Regions from separate parts of the Homo sapiens genome. Here all the other regions are linked to region 3. Evidence: promoter capture Hi-C in human tissues and cell types (Jung and others, 2019). All regions are on one chromosome and are shown on one strand. Each heading gives the region's core, a stretch centred on a gene start or on the middle of the fragment in contact. The rest is flanking DNA. Distances are from core to core; before and after follow the strand shown. Region 1 overlaps ATP13A3 (ATPase 13A3). Region 2 overlaps LINC01968 (long intergenic non-protein coding RNA 1968). Region 3 holds the start of XXYLT1 (xyloside xylosyltransferase 1). Region 4 overlaps TMEM44-AS2 (TMEM44 antisense RNA 2). Region 5 overlaps LINC01968 (long intergenic non-protein coding RNA 1968).

Region 1 (2,700 bases), core at 46-2,545, 860 kb after region 3:
TTTGATCCCTTGATAAATTATAATTAAAATGACATTTTCTAATTTTTTATGTTGTTGAACTCAATACAGTTGTTTTAGATATTCATCTTGTTCCCAGAAGCCTTATCAGACTTTATTCAGACACATTTTAGATTGTCTAGGATTTTCTGTTTAGACAGGCATCATATATAAGTAATTACAAGCTGTAATTACTTACTTGACTCCCCAGCAGTTTGTTTCTGACATTTCACAGTCTTTATGTGCTTTTTCTGTATTTTTCATGTCTTAATATATTAGTTATAGTGATAGTGATATCCTTGTCTTACTCTTGTCTCTAAAGGACGTGTTCCTAATAGTTCACCATTAGATAAACTGTTTGCTGTATATTTCTAGTGTATAGTCTTTATCAGGTTAAGGAAGCTTCCTTAGTTGTACAGTGTTGTTAACATAAGTGGTTTTAAATTTTTATCTAATGCTTTTTTTTTTGAGATGGAGTCTCGCTCTGTCGCCCAGGCTGGAGTGCAGTGGCATGATCTCGGCTCACTGCAACCTCCACCTCCCGGGTTCAAGCAATTCTCCTGCCTCAGCCTCCCAAGTAGCTGGGATTACAGGCGTGTGCCACCATGCCTGGCTAAGTTTTTGTGTTCTTAGTAGAGATGGGATTTCACCATCTGGCCAGACTGGTATCGAACTCCTGACCTCACGATCCACCCACCGTGGCCTCCCAAAGTGCTGGGATTGCAGGTGTGAGCCACTGTGCCCAGCCAATCTAATGCTTTTTCTGCAGCTATTGAAATGGTCACACAGTTTTTCTCCCTGAAGAATGTGATGAATTATAGCTGATCAGTATTCAAATATTGAACTAACTTTGCATTTCTAGAATAAATTCAGTTTGGTCATGATGCACACTCTTTGAAATTTGGATTTAGGTTGCTATGATTTTGTTTTGGATTTTTGCCTCTGCATGAATGAGATCAGATTTAATTTTCTTTTCTTGTATGTTACGGACAGGTTTGATCTTAAAGTTATATAACTTAAACTTACAAAGTTTGTGAAATGAGTATTCCATTGCAGGGACTTTTTAGTAATTTGTTTAGTCCTGTTTTGCTGGATATTTAGGTTGGTTCCAGTGTTTTGCTATTAGAAACAATGTGGTATTGTAAGGAGAATGGTGTGAACCCGGGAGGCGGAGCTTGCAGTGAGCCAAGATCACACCACTGCACTCCAGGCTGGGCGACAGGGCGAGACTCCGTCTCAAAAAAAAAAAAAAAAAAAAAAAAAAGAATGTGGTATTGTAAATCCTTGCACACTTCAGTTACAGACAAATATATATTTATAGGCTAAATATGCAAAAGTGGAATTGCTTGGTCTGAGGGTATCTATAAATTTAATTTTCATAAATTCTGCATTATTGAACTTTGAAGATGTTCCAGGTTGTAGTCTTACCAGCAGTATATGTCTGTTTCCCTGCATATTTCATTGAGGGGTTTAGATAAGCACTTACAGTAAAAGAAGAAAACAAAATGCATTATATTTCTCTCCTGGTGCACATGTCTTCTGTTTCACAACCAACTTTTTCTTGAAATAGTACCACATTCAGCTCACCTCCCACACGTTCGTCAACTAATCTGGCATCTTCCCCTGCCAATCTACTGAAACGGCCCTCAGCAAGGCCGTTAGCCTCTTACTTGTTAAGTCCAATGGACTTTTCTCCCTAATGTATTTTTTTCCAGTCTTACTTGACTCCCCAGCAGTATTTGACGAGTTAGCCATGTCATCATTCTTAAGATACTCTCTTCTGAAATTTTGTGATGCTTTGCTGTCTTTTGGCCTTTTCTTAGCTCTGACTCTCCAGTCTCATTTTCCACTTTGGCTCCACTCCCTCTGCCCATTCCTTAAATGTTAGGGTTCCTTACATTTCTGTTCTTATTCCTCTGGTCACTCAATACATTCTGGTGATATCCCCTAGAGTCATGGCTTCACCTGTAATCACCATCTATATGTTAAAGGCTCCCAACCTTTATACCCTGAGCCTACCTCACTACTAAGCTTTAGACCTGCAAATACACTGATATATTGACTGTTACTTGGGTGTTCCACCCAACAGATCCCTCAATTTAAACATTTTAAGAACTAAGCTCATCATGTTCTCCTTCAACCCTTTTTCTTCTCTGTTTCTTGGTACCACTATTTATTCAAGTCAGAAGTGTGCATGCTTGTGTACATGCGTGTGTGTCTATTTATCTGTGCCTTTTCTTCCTCTTTCCGTAGCCAGCCATTTGTTAGATTCTTTCAGTTTTCTTATTATAAACCTTTCTGTCTTTACAACTATCCCATTTTTTAGGCCTTAGAAATTAATCAGATTTTAAAGTGAACACTTAGATTGTTTTTTCTTAACTTCATCTTTTTTTATGAAGTTGTCTTTATAATTGAGTTTTGACCAGTACTTCGTTATTAGATTGGTACCTCTTTTTTTTTTTTTTTAAGGCAGGTTCTTCTGTCACCCACGCTGGAGTACAGTGGCAGGATCTCGGCTCACTGCAGCCTCCACTTCCCAGGCTCAAGTGATTCTCGTGGCTCAGCCTTTTGAGTAGCTGGGATTATAGGCATGCACCACCTCGCCTGGCTAATTTTTGTATTTTTAGTAGAGACGAGATTTTGCCATGTTGCCCAGGCTAGGCTCAAACTCCTAGCCTCAAGTGATCTGCCCACCTCTGCCTC
Region 2 (2,700 bases), core at 166-2,665, 540 kb after region 3:
AGGAGCTGAAGAAGAAGAGCGGGGGGAGAAAAGGAAGGGGAGAAAGAAGAGGAGGGAAGAGAAAGGCAGGGTGGGGAGGGAAGAGGGAGACATAGTCACAGTGGAGGAAGGAGAAGCTGCGGCAGAAGGAGAAGCAGCAAAAGCAAAAGTCAGAGCAGAGAAATGGAAACAAGCCAAAGTAGCAGCAGCAGAACGAAGAGAAGCAGCAGAAAAGGCAGGAGGAGGAGGAGGAAAAGCGCAAGAGGAGGAGGAAAAGGAAGAAAAAGCAGAAGGAGAAGTAGATGAATATGTTGCAGAAGAAGCACCAGCAGGAAAAGCAGAGGCAGAAGCAGCAAGCACAGGAGGAAAGAGAAGCAGAAGAGAGAAGCAACAGCTAAGAAGAAGCACCAGCAGAGACAGCAGTAGAAGAAGCATGGGAAGCAGAAGAAGGGGGAAGAGAGGGCGGAAGAGTGGGGAAGAGAGGGCGGAAGAGCAAGACTGGGTTGGGGAAGTCGTAGTAGAGGGAGGATGAGAAGCAGAAACAGAAAAAGCAGCTGAGAAAAAAGCAGAAGCAGAAAAGGCAGAAGCCAAAGCACAAGGCAGAAGAAAGCAGAAGCTGAAGCCAACGCAAAGCAGCAGACACAAGAGGAGAGAGAGCAGAACAGCAGACCTGACCACTGCAGCAGAACAGCAGACCCGACCACTGCAGCAGAACACAGAACAGCAGACCTGACCACTGCAGCAGGACACAGAACAGCAGATCCGACCACTGCAGCAGAACAGCAGACCCAACCACTGCAGCAGGACAGCAGACCCAACCACTGCAGCAGGACAGCAGACCAAACCACTGCAGCAGAACACAGAACAGCAGACCTGACCACTGCAGCAGGACAGCAGACCTGACCACTGCAGCAGGACAGCAGACCAAACCACTGCAGCAGAACAACAGACCTGACCACTGCAGCAGAAGCTGGAGAAAAAGGACAGAATCAGCAGAAGCCAAAGCAAAGGAAGCCAAAGCAGAAGGAGCATCCCGAGGCAGAGGCTGTGTGCCCACTGAGGGGTAAGGAAGAGAAGGCAGTGTGCCCACTGAAGGTTAAGGAAGAGAGGGCAGTGTGCCCACTGAGGGGTAAGGAAGAGAGGACACAGGCCTGGCCACTTGATTGGACCATTGGCTCTCCGAACCCTAGTGTCCTTCAGGAGACAAAGAGGCAGGTGAACCAGTGAGACGTTCTTGCAATTCTAATCATTTGTGCCAAAAATGAGGATAGGCTGAAGCGGAAATGTTCCCAAGACAAAAACAAGGATAAAGGAATAAACTTTGATCAAGCACCTTCCATGGGCCAAGCACAAAAGAGACTCAGCCCCTGCTTTCCATGAGCTCATAGTCTAGACAGGGTGATGCCAATGGTCAGAAGAGGGGTAGGAATTGCAAAGGCCCATAATTTGGGAAATGAGGAGACATTAGAGAGGCTTTAGAAAGAGGTAGGAAAAGACAAAAACATTAATAATAACTATAGCTACAATAATTTGTTAATGGATACACAATATGAAAATATGTAAATTGTGACATCAAAAACATAAAGTGGGAGGAGGATTAAAAGTAGTGTTTTAGTACGTCATAAAAGTTAAGTTGTTACCAGCTGAAAATAGACTGTTATAACCATAAGATGTTTTAGGTAAGCCTCATGGTAACTGCAAAGCAAAAACCTACACTAAATACACAAAACAGAAAGAGAAAGAAATCAATGCCACTACAGAAAACATCAAATCCCAAAGGAAGACAGCAACAGAAGAAGAAAGGAACAAAGGATCTACAAATTAGAAAACAATTACCAAAATAGCAATAATAATTCTTAAAAATCAATAATCACTTTAAATGTAAATGGATTAAATTTTCCAATCAAAAGACAGAGGGGCCCATTGGATTAAAAACAAGGCCCAGCTATATGTATATAGCTGGATTTGATGATTTCTATAGTGTTATGGTTGTAACACTATAGAAAAGAAAAGCAGCTTTTGTAAGGCCATAGCTCTCATAGACAATGACACATCTGGTGGATCTGGGCAAAGTAAATTGAAAACCCTCTGGAAAGGGTTCACCATTCTAGATGCCATTAAGAACATTAGTGATTCACGGGAGGAGGCTGAAATACTAACATTAACAACCAATTTTGAAGAAGTTGGTTCCAACCTTCATGGATGACTTTGAAGGCATCAAGACTTGGGTGGAGGAAGTCCTGCAGATGAGGTACAAATAAATAACAAGATAACTAGACTTATTATAGAAGTGACGCTCGGAGTTGCTTCTTTTTTTTTTGAGACAGAGTCTCTCTCTGTCGCCCAGGCTGTAGTGCAGTGGCGCGATCTTGGCTCACTGCAACCTCCGCCTCCCAGGTTCACGCCCCATTCTCCTGCCTCAGCCTCCTGAGTAGCTGGGACTACAGGTGCCTGTCACCACGCCTGGCTAATTTTTTGTATTTTTAGTAGGAGAGAGGGTTTCACCGTATTAGTCAGAATGGTCTCGATCTCCTGACCTCGTGATCTGCCTGCCTCGGCCTCCCAAAGTGCTGGGATTACAGATGTGAGCCACTGCACCCAGCCCAGGGAGTTGCTTCTTATGGATGAGCAAATAAATGGTGTCTTTTTTCTTTTTTTCCTTTTTTTTGGGTTTTTTTTTTTTTTCCTCTCTTTTTGAGACAGAGTCTTGCTCTGTCTCCA
Region 3 (2,700 bases), core at 12-2,511:
AAATAAAAATGCTGTTTCAATGGTTGAGTATATTTTTGAGACTCATCCAATGTGGTAGGCACCGTGTTAGGTACTGGGTATATTGTGGTTAATAAAAAACAAATGTATATTCTGTTCTCTTGGAGTCACGTGTTCTTGCAATGAAGAAAGATGAGACTAGGGTAGTACATATATTTAGGTGGCCCTCACAGAATTATTGAGGATGGCACTTAGCCCAGACACTGGATAGGAGGTATTTAGAGATCATTTGTGTAGGTAGTGACATGTAAGCCAAGGTCTGAAGCAGAGAGGTTGGATAATCCATGCAACCTTACAATGTGGAAATAACAGGAAAAACCGTTTACCTAATCTCTGGTCAGAAATCAGAGAACTTGGCCAAAGAACTGAAGGGTTACTGTACTTACTCAAGTTCTTTGTCTATTTAGACAGCATGCACAGCACTTGCACGTGTTTACTTAAAAACTACTGGTATAGCCTCAATTCTTAGAAGACTGAAGTTAGTACGTTTTTATCTAGTTAGCAGTGTGCAACTGCCTAGGGTCAAAATTGCTACTGGCTAGCTGTGTGACTTTGGGCACGTGACCTCGGCGTGCAAAACTCCCTGGTACCCTCAAGGAGGCTCTTGATAAAGTGTTAAAAGTCTGTTTATAAAACAAAAGTGGATGAATGTCGCCCTCCAGGGCTTTGCGGTGCTGGGGCTCGGGGAGCAGCCTCGCAGGTTCGTGCGGGCGGCGGGGGCCCCCTGCTGGCCACATCCTCCAGCCTCCCTCCGCTCGGCCTCCGGCGCGACGTGCGGCCCGGGCCATTTCCTCCCAGGGCGGGGGAAAAGGGAGGAGCTGCCGGTTTAAATTGCCTAGCTGCAGCTCGTGTGCAGGGAGAGGCCGAGACGGCTTAAAGCCTCCAAGAAATTGAGGGAAAAAAGGTGCAGAGATTAAAGTTTTACCTCTTGGTGCCTCCAGCTTCGCTTTTGGCTAACCTAAGTTCCTCTGTTCGGGCGCCTCCATTCCCTTCAACACTCAGCTTGGATATCCTCTGGGGCTCGCCGCGTAGGGCGCCATTTCTCAGCCGGGACAGCGGGCCAGCCCTCAGCACGCTGGAGTCCGGAATCCCCCCCTCCCAACGCCGGGCGCCGGATCCCACCCTAACCCCTCCTCTAATACCCTTGGAACCTAGGACCCAGCGGTTTCGGCACGCCCGGCCCCGCCCCTCCGCGCACCGGCGCCCGCGATTGGCTCCAGGCGGCGCGGCCCCGCCCCTTTCATGGCCGCCGCCTGGCGCCGGGGCTAAGTGGCCGCCGGCGTCCGGGTACCCGAGGGCTCTCCCGCGTTGCTGGCACCGCTGGCGCCGCGGTCTCGTAGCGCATGGGCCTCCTCCGAGGCGGGCTCCCATGCGCTCGGGCCATGGCGCGCCTGGGCGCTGTGCGCTCCCACTACTGCGCCCTGCTGCTGGCCGCGGCGCTGGCCGTCTGCGCCTTCTACTACCTCGGCTCAGGCCGGGAGACCTTCTCCAGCGCCACCAAGAGGCTGAAGGAGGCCCGCGCCGGGGCTCCCGCCGCGCCCTCGCCGCCCGCGCTGGAGCTAGCGCGGGGCTCCGTGGCGCCAGCCCCCGGCGCGAAGGCCAAGAGCTTGGAGGGCGGCGGTGCCGGGCCGGTGGACTACCACCTGCTGATGATGTTCACCAAGGCGGAGCACAATGCCGCGCTGCAGGCCAAGGCCCGCGTCGCGCTGCGCTCACTGCTGCGCCTCGCCAAGTTCGAGGCGCACGAGGTGCTTAACCTTCACTTCGTGAGCGAGGAGGCCAGCCGCGAGGTGGCCAAGGGCCTGCTGCGGGAGCTCCTGCCGCCCGCCGCTGGCTTCAAGTGCAAGGTGAGCGGGCCGCGGCTGGGGGCTCCCGGTGGGTGGCCCACCCCATCCTAGGCGAGGTCAGTTTGCGCTCCCGGAGGGGATCCGGGGAACTAGCGGGTAGGATCTTCCCTGAGCTGCCCGCTTGCAATGTAGTGTTCACAACCTGCGGGAGGGCTCGTTCGGGGGCGTGTCCGGGAGCCAGACGCCCTCAGCTGGTGCTGAGGAGTGGAGCTGCGTTTTTAATGACCGCCTCGTTTTCCTCTCCCCCAGTTAAGCGCAGCCCCCAGGAGAGTCCGCGCGCCCCCATTTTGCTAACGTTGCAGGGTTCAGCACTGCCTTCAGAGTCTGCACCTCTGTTTATGTTCCTCAGTTTTTGACTTCTGAGGATGGGACTGGTCACCAGTAGTCATCCTGAGCAACTGGAGAGGGCCTTGGTGAGGCCTCTGGAAGTGTTGAAGTTGCAGTGACACTTCTCATTGCTCTTAAGGTATTTCAGTAGGATCTGGTCAAACTCATTGTGAACCATCTTATCTCCTCTCTGTGTCCCTTTTTCCCCTTCCTCCAAGGGTCATGAACCCATTTAGAGAAGCCTGGAGTTCCTCCGAATGAGGAAGAGAAAGCTCAAGAGGAACAGATATGATCTGGGGAGAGCACAGCTGGCCGCCTTGTCCCAGGCTGGACCAGTCTGCCTCCATGACAGCTTCCATCTCTGTTTATCATCTGTCTTCACTGCCTGGCTCTCCTTGTCTGAGATGTGTTTCTGACATAGTGTGAATTGCCTAGGTCAAATTGCTTATTTGATTTTGACCTAATAGTTGTACAGAGGGGATCCGAGGCCAGATTTTAAGGAGTAGTA
Region 4 (2,700 bases), core at 99-2,598, 630 kb after region 3:
TGAGCCAATTAAACCTCTTTTCTTTATAAATTACTGTCTCTGGTATTTCTGGTTTTCTTTTTTTTTTTTTTTTTGAGACGGAGTCTCACTCTGTCGCCCCGGCTGGAGTGCAGTGGCATGATCTCGGCTCACTGGAACCTCCCTCTCCCGGATTCAAGCAACGTGCCCTCCCAGAAGAGAAAGCTGTTGAGCTGCTGGCCTGTCTCCGCCAGGCGGCTGGGATTTATGGTCACCATTGGCTGCCCACTCCCGTAGGGCCGCCCAGGCCGCTGCAGCCTTTCCTTCAGAAGGACGGTGCCTGAGGTCCTGCCACCTCTGCCAACAGGAAATGCCTTTGAGCAGTCACATCACTGCCCACTGTCCAGGAGGACAAGTGCTGCGGTCCTCTTGTTAGTTTTTCTTTTTGGCTAACTCTGAACCATGGCCAAAAACATTATCTTTAGCTCCTGGGCAGCTGCTGGACCTCTGAGGAGCCTGGTTAAGGAACTGATTCATTTCCTGAGGGCCGACCACGTGCAGAGCCCTGTGGAAAGTACAGGGAGAACCTGGGCAGGGTTCTAATGACCCAGAGGGAGCTAGTTAGAAGATACCGTCCAAAGTGTTCACGGCAGGATGAAGTCCCGACTCCCTCGCTACCGAACGCTGACCGTCTCGCCTCCCCTCCTGCAGGTGCTGCCCTCCCTCTGCTATTTGCCTTTCTCCCTATACCATCTCTTGCCGCCTCCAAGGGCCTCTGCAGAGCTGCTGCCATGGCCTTGTTGCCAAAAGCAAACATTCTCCAAGGCCCAGCTTATGCATTATTTCTTGGAAACCTTCCCCCACACACCCCCGCCCACAATGCGGGGTGTCGTCAATGTACTTTAAAGATGCCCCTGCTGTAGTACATGTTGTATTTTTATGGCTTGTTTAAAAATCAGCATATCCGGCCAGGCATGGTGGCTCACGCCTGTAATCCCAGCACTTTGGGAGGCTGAGGCGGGTGGATCACTTGAGGTCAGGAGTTTAAGACTAGCCTGGCCAACATGGTGAAACCCCGTCTCTACTAAAAATACCAAAATTAGCCGGGCATGGTGTTACGCACCTGTAATCCCAGGAGGCAGAGGTTGCAGTGAGCCAAGATCACACCCCTGCACTCCAGCCTGGGCAACAGACAGAACAAGACAGTCTCAAAAAAAAAAAAAATCAAAAAATCAGTGCATTCATTCAGTAAATATTTTCCTTATTATGTGCCAGGCACTGAGCTAGAAGCTGAGGATGCAAGTGTAAACTAAACAACCCTGGCTGCAAGAAGCTCACAGCCTGGTAGAAAGACGGCACTCTTCACCCTTTAGAGGTGTCTTTGTAATAGAGTGGCGCAGGCACTGGGGCTTGGGCCCCCAGGACCAGGACGGCAAGTCAGCTGAAGCAAGGATGATTGCGGTGGAAGAGCCCTGTGAGGGAGAGCCAGGAGTTTGGCTTTAGACGTGTGCATTAGGCATGCAGGGGAGACGTCAAGTTATCAAGTAGGCAGCTGCGTATGTGAGTCTAAAGTTTGAGAAGGAGGGACCTGGAGCTGCGCATTCGGGAGGTGCAGGTACAGGGACAGTAGTTAAAGCCAGAGACCCAATGAGATCCCCAACAGAGGATAGGTAGGGATGAGAACCAAGAACTGAGCTGCATGTCTCCCCCCCATTAGCTGACCTTCCTCCTTTTACAGAAAGGAACACACAAGTGCAGAGAGGACCAGTGTTTTGCCCCAAGTCACAGCACAGCTGCTGCAATGCGGAGGGAAAATTCCAGTGTAAGATCAGCAGGCTCCAGAGCCCACACTCTTCCCATTGCTTCTGTTTTGTTTGTTTGTTTGCTTGTTTTTTGAGACAAGAGTCCTGTTTTGTCGCCCAAGCTGGAGTGCAGTGGCGTGATCTCTGCTCACTGTAACCTCCGCCTCCTGGGCTCAAGTGATCTGCCTCAGCCTCCCAAGTAGCTGGATTACAGGCACCCACCACTATGCCTGGCTATTTTTTGTATTTTTAGTAGAGACAGGGTTTCACCATGTTGGCCAGGCTGGTCTCGAACTCCTGATCTCAAATGATCCACCCGCCTCGGCCTCCCAAAATGCTAGGATTACAGGTGTGAGCCATCGCACCCAGCCTCCCATTGCTTCTTTACGTGAGCCAGCTTGTCCAGTGACTGGGAGCAGCTCCCCGACTGAGGGCCATCTCCAAAACCCATAGTTTCTTGTAAGAATTGTCATGAAGCTTGTGGAGATGCAGTGTAGGAGGCTGAACAATGGTTCCTGAATATATCAGGCCCTAATCCCTGGAAACTGCAAATGTTACCTTATATGGAAAAAGGGTCTTGGTGGTTGTGATTAAATTTTTTTTTTTTTTTTTGGTCTTGAGATGGAGTCTCTGTCACCAGGCTGGAGTGCAGTGGCACGAGCTTGGCTCATTGCAACCTCTGCCTCCCAGGTTCAAGCAATTCTCCTGCCTCAGTAGCTGTAATCCCTCCCGAGTAGCTGGGATTACAGGCACGCACCACCACGCCCAGCTAATTTTTGCATTTTTAGTAGAGACGGGGTTTCACCTTGTTGGCCAGGATGGTCTCGATCTCTTAACCTTGTGATCCGCCCACCCTGGCCTCCCAAAGTGCTGGGATTACAGGGGTGAGCCGCCATGCCCAGCCAGTTGTGATTAAATTAAGGATGGGGAGATTATCGCA
Region 5 (2,711 bases), core at 92-2,591, 550 kb after region 3:
AGTACCACAAACTTGGTGCCTGAAAATAATCGAAATCTATTCTGTTCTGAAATCTATTCACTTCTGGAGGCTGGAAGTCCAAAATCAAGGTGTCAGCAGGGCCATGCTGCCTCTGAAGTCTCTAGGGGAGAATCCTTTCCCTGGCTCTTCCCAGCTTCTGGTGGTGGCCATGGATCCTTGTCTCCCCTGGGCTTGTAGCTGCATCACTCCAATCCCTGCCTGTGTGTTATCACATGGCCTTTTCCCCTGTGTCTCTCTCTCCTTATAGGGACACCAAGCTTTTCATTTAGGGTCTATCTACCCTAATCCTATATCACCTCATCTTCACTTGATTGCATATGTAAAGGCCCTATTTCCAAGGAAGGTCACATTCACAGCTTCCAGGAGGATATTGATCTTGTGGGGTTATATTCAAACCGGTACACCTCATAAACCACCTGTAGGGATTCTTGATCTCCATCCCTAGGAGGCAGACAATGGAGACATTTGTACCAGTCTATCTGCAAATCTATTTAGATCCTTAATCCTTCTCTAGAATACCAGAAAGAAAGCCACCTGCCCACAGTCAAAAGAAAATGACGTAGCTAATTAGGTTGTCGTTTTTAATGTTTTTAAGACCAACAGAGATGAAAAAGACACTATCCTTGTGGGTTTTTTTCAGATTTGATTCCACATTTTTAACAGTAAGCCCATTTTATGCCTGTTTAGAAACAGCAAACATAGTATTTAAAGTGTAATCAGCCAGGCGGGGTGGCTCACACACTTTGAGAGGCCAAGGCAGGCAGATCCACTTGAGGCCAGGAGTTCGAGACTAGCCTGAACAACATGGTGAAACCTCATCTTTACTACAACTACAAAAATTAGCTGGATATGTTAGTGCGCACCTGTGGTCCCAGCTACTCCGAGGCTGAGGCAGGAGAATCACTTGAACCCGGGAGGCAGAGGTTGCAGTGAGCCGAGATTACACCACTGCACTCCAGCCTGGGAGACAGAGCAAGACTCCATCTCTAAATAAATAAATAAATAAATGTAATCAACTAATGTTTTTCTCCTAAAGAAGCTTGATAGATTATCACACACACACACACACACACACACACACACACAACTGAAAACTCCTTTTATTTTTCCAATTTAGCATTGTAACTTAACGTTGTAACTACTAATTTAGATGGTCCCAGGAAGCACAAAAAGGAGCCCAGGCTGATGGTCAAATTCTGTAGTAATTCCTATGAGATGATCATTTAACACCAGTCACTCTTACTTCTTCACAACTTTCTTGTACAAAATCCAAGATAGGTTTTAGGCAGAGCTATTGCTTGTGTTACTCTTCAGACCCAGGCCCTAGGTGTATTTGCAAAATTAAACCATGTTAGGCTTTGAGGAACAAGAAGAGGCATTTTTTAAAACTTCCCCAGTCCCTGGGGTCCCTGGGCTGACCTAGAGGTCTGGGTTGGGAAATTAACTATTCCCATTTCCATTTCTTCCCGTCATTTAAGCTGTTTCCTTGGAATGTCACAGCCCATCTGTGCTTCCTTCTGTGAAATGAGGCCTGTGACCATTGGCTGTGTACCATTAGGGGAGCTAGAGGAGCAGCCAGGAGATGTGAACTCATTCTCGCCCTCAAGTCACATTGACTCTGCACCTAGAAAGGCAGCAGGCAGTAGTAGCAGATCAGGGGTGGAAGGCAACAAAGAGCTGAAAACAAAGCTGTCCCTCTGGAGTTGTACTGCCTAGGTTCAAATCTTAGATTCATTCTGGAGAGACAAGATAGAAACTTCTCTAAGCCTGTTTGCTCATCTGTAAAATGAGGTTAACAGTGCCTGCTGCTTGGAGTTACGCAGAAGTACTGCGATAGTGAAGGTAGCAAGTGCCTGGCACATAGCAGGCATTCAGTAAGGCTAGGCCTCATTAACAGGAGTTCCCGCTCTGCTGAACGTTCATGGCTGCCTGGATCAGAGTCTTAAGAAGCCATGTTCAGGCTTAATGGGAAGGAATGTCCTGATAGATTACTGATGTCTGCCCTGGGTGGTTTTACTGGAGTCACGTATTTGCCAATTCTGCAGGCACCATATTGAACTCATATTTTTCTTCCCAAGACCCCTTCCAAGCCCCTTGTATGGTAGACACACCTTTGTATGGTAGACATGCCTGATAGCAATAACTTCTTAAGCATACACAGAGAATGGCTCTGTATGGCAGATACACTTGAATATGTGTTCAGAGTTCTGAGTGTGGCCAACCCAGAGAGTCATTCCTTACCTATGAGGAACATCTGAGCCCCCAGCCATCCAATCGAAGGTGGACCATACAGGGGACTGAAGCTCTTTGTTTTGGGTTAAATGGAGGTTGCCAGGTGGAGGTCATTAAGGGGAGCATATGAGGTAAAAATGTTGTGTTAACTGCACGCTTTCTGGAGGCTGTGGCAGTTCTGTTCAGCCTGCCGCCACTGCACCATCCTTGTGTGTAATTCCCCCTAATAAAACCATGTGTCTCATTCGCTGGTTCTGGGTCTCTTTTTTGGCTTGTCAAGCCTGGTGCTGTCCCTGTTGACATTAACAGGGGTCCAGTATAACAGTATCCCCTTTTGTAAATCCTTGCTCTGAAACTCACCACACCGATGTGTCACGCTGAAGTGAAAACCTAGTTGGTCCAAAGCTGAACAACTAGAGGCAGGATGCTAGAGAGGAGAGAGCCACAGCTAGTCCCAG

The links. The method cuts DNA at HindIII sites, captures the fragments that hold promoters and counts their contacts. A contact is called where the count stands out against the background at its distance.
Region 1: a contact is called between a fragment that was not itself captured here and the fragment with the promoter of XXYLT1 in region 3, in 1 of the 25 tissues and cell types used here (spleen).
Region 2: a fragment that was not itself captured here is called in contact with the fragment with the promoter of XXYLT1 in region 3 in 1 of the 25 tissues and cell types used here (dorsolateral prefrontal cortex).
Region 4: a fragment that was not itself captured here is called in contact with the fragment with the promoter of XXYLT1 in region 3 in 1 of the 25 tissues and cell types used here (lymphoblastoid cells).
Region 5: a fragment that was not itself captured here is called in contact with the fragment with the promoter of XXYLT1 in region 3 in 1 of the 25 tissues and cell types used here (dorsolateral prefrontal cortex).

Annotation. Positions count from the first base shown.
Region 1 is chr3:194,414,223-194,416,922 of GRCh38, reverse strand. The region is part of intron 31 of ATP13A3 (ATPase 13A3); the gene reads left to right. Among named protein-coding and RNA genes, the nearest start is that of GP5, 16 kb to the right of the region's middle. The HindIII fragment of the contact is 3,257 bases long and covers 1-2,700 here.
Region 2 is chr3:194,734,532-194,737,231 of GRCh38, reverse strand. All of the region lies in intron 1 of LINC01968 (long intergenic non-protein coding RNA 1968), which reads right to left. All of the region lies in intron 2 of LOC105374292 (a long non-coding RNA gene), which reads right to left. Among named protein-coding and RNA genes, the nearest start is that of LINC01968, 27 kb to the right of the region's middle. The HindIII fragment of the contact is 7,852 bases long and covers 1-2,700 here.
Region 3 is chr3:195,269,720-195,272,419 of GRCh38, reverse strand. XXYLT1 (xyloside xylosyltransferase 1) reads left to right here and starts at 1,261. Exons shown (of 4, transcript NM_152531.5): 1 at 1,261-1,865. The coding sequence starts at 1,362. RefSeq lists silencers at 631-860, 1,111-1,640, 1,801-1,980 and an enhancer at 1,231-2,022. The HindIII fragment of the contact is 18,362 bases long and covers 1-2,700 here.
Region 4 is chr3:194,638,121-194,640,820 of GRCh38, reverse strand. The region is part of intron 1 of TMEM44-AS2 (TMEM44 antisense RNA 2); the gene reads right to left. LSG1 (large 60S subunit nuclear export GTPase 1) reads left to right here. Exons shown (of 14, transcript NM_018385.3): 14 at 1-30. Among named protein-coding and RNA genes, the nearest start is that of TMEM44, 6.1 kb to the right of the region's middle. The HindIII fragment of the contact is 4,197 bases long and covers 1-2,700 here.
Region 5 is chr3:194,717,152-194,719,862 of GRCh38, reverse strand. All of the region lies in intron 1 of LINC01968 (long intergenic non-protein coding RNA 1968), which reads right to left. All of the region lies in intron 2 of LOC105374292 (a long non-coding RNA gene), which reads right to left. Among named protein-coding and RNA genes, the nearest start is that of LINC01968, 10 kb to the right of the region's middle. The HindIII fragment of the contact is 3,412 bases long and covers 1-2,711 here.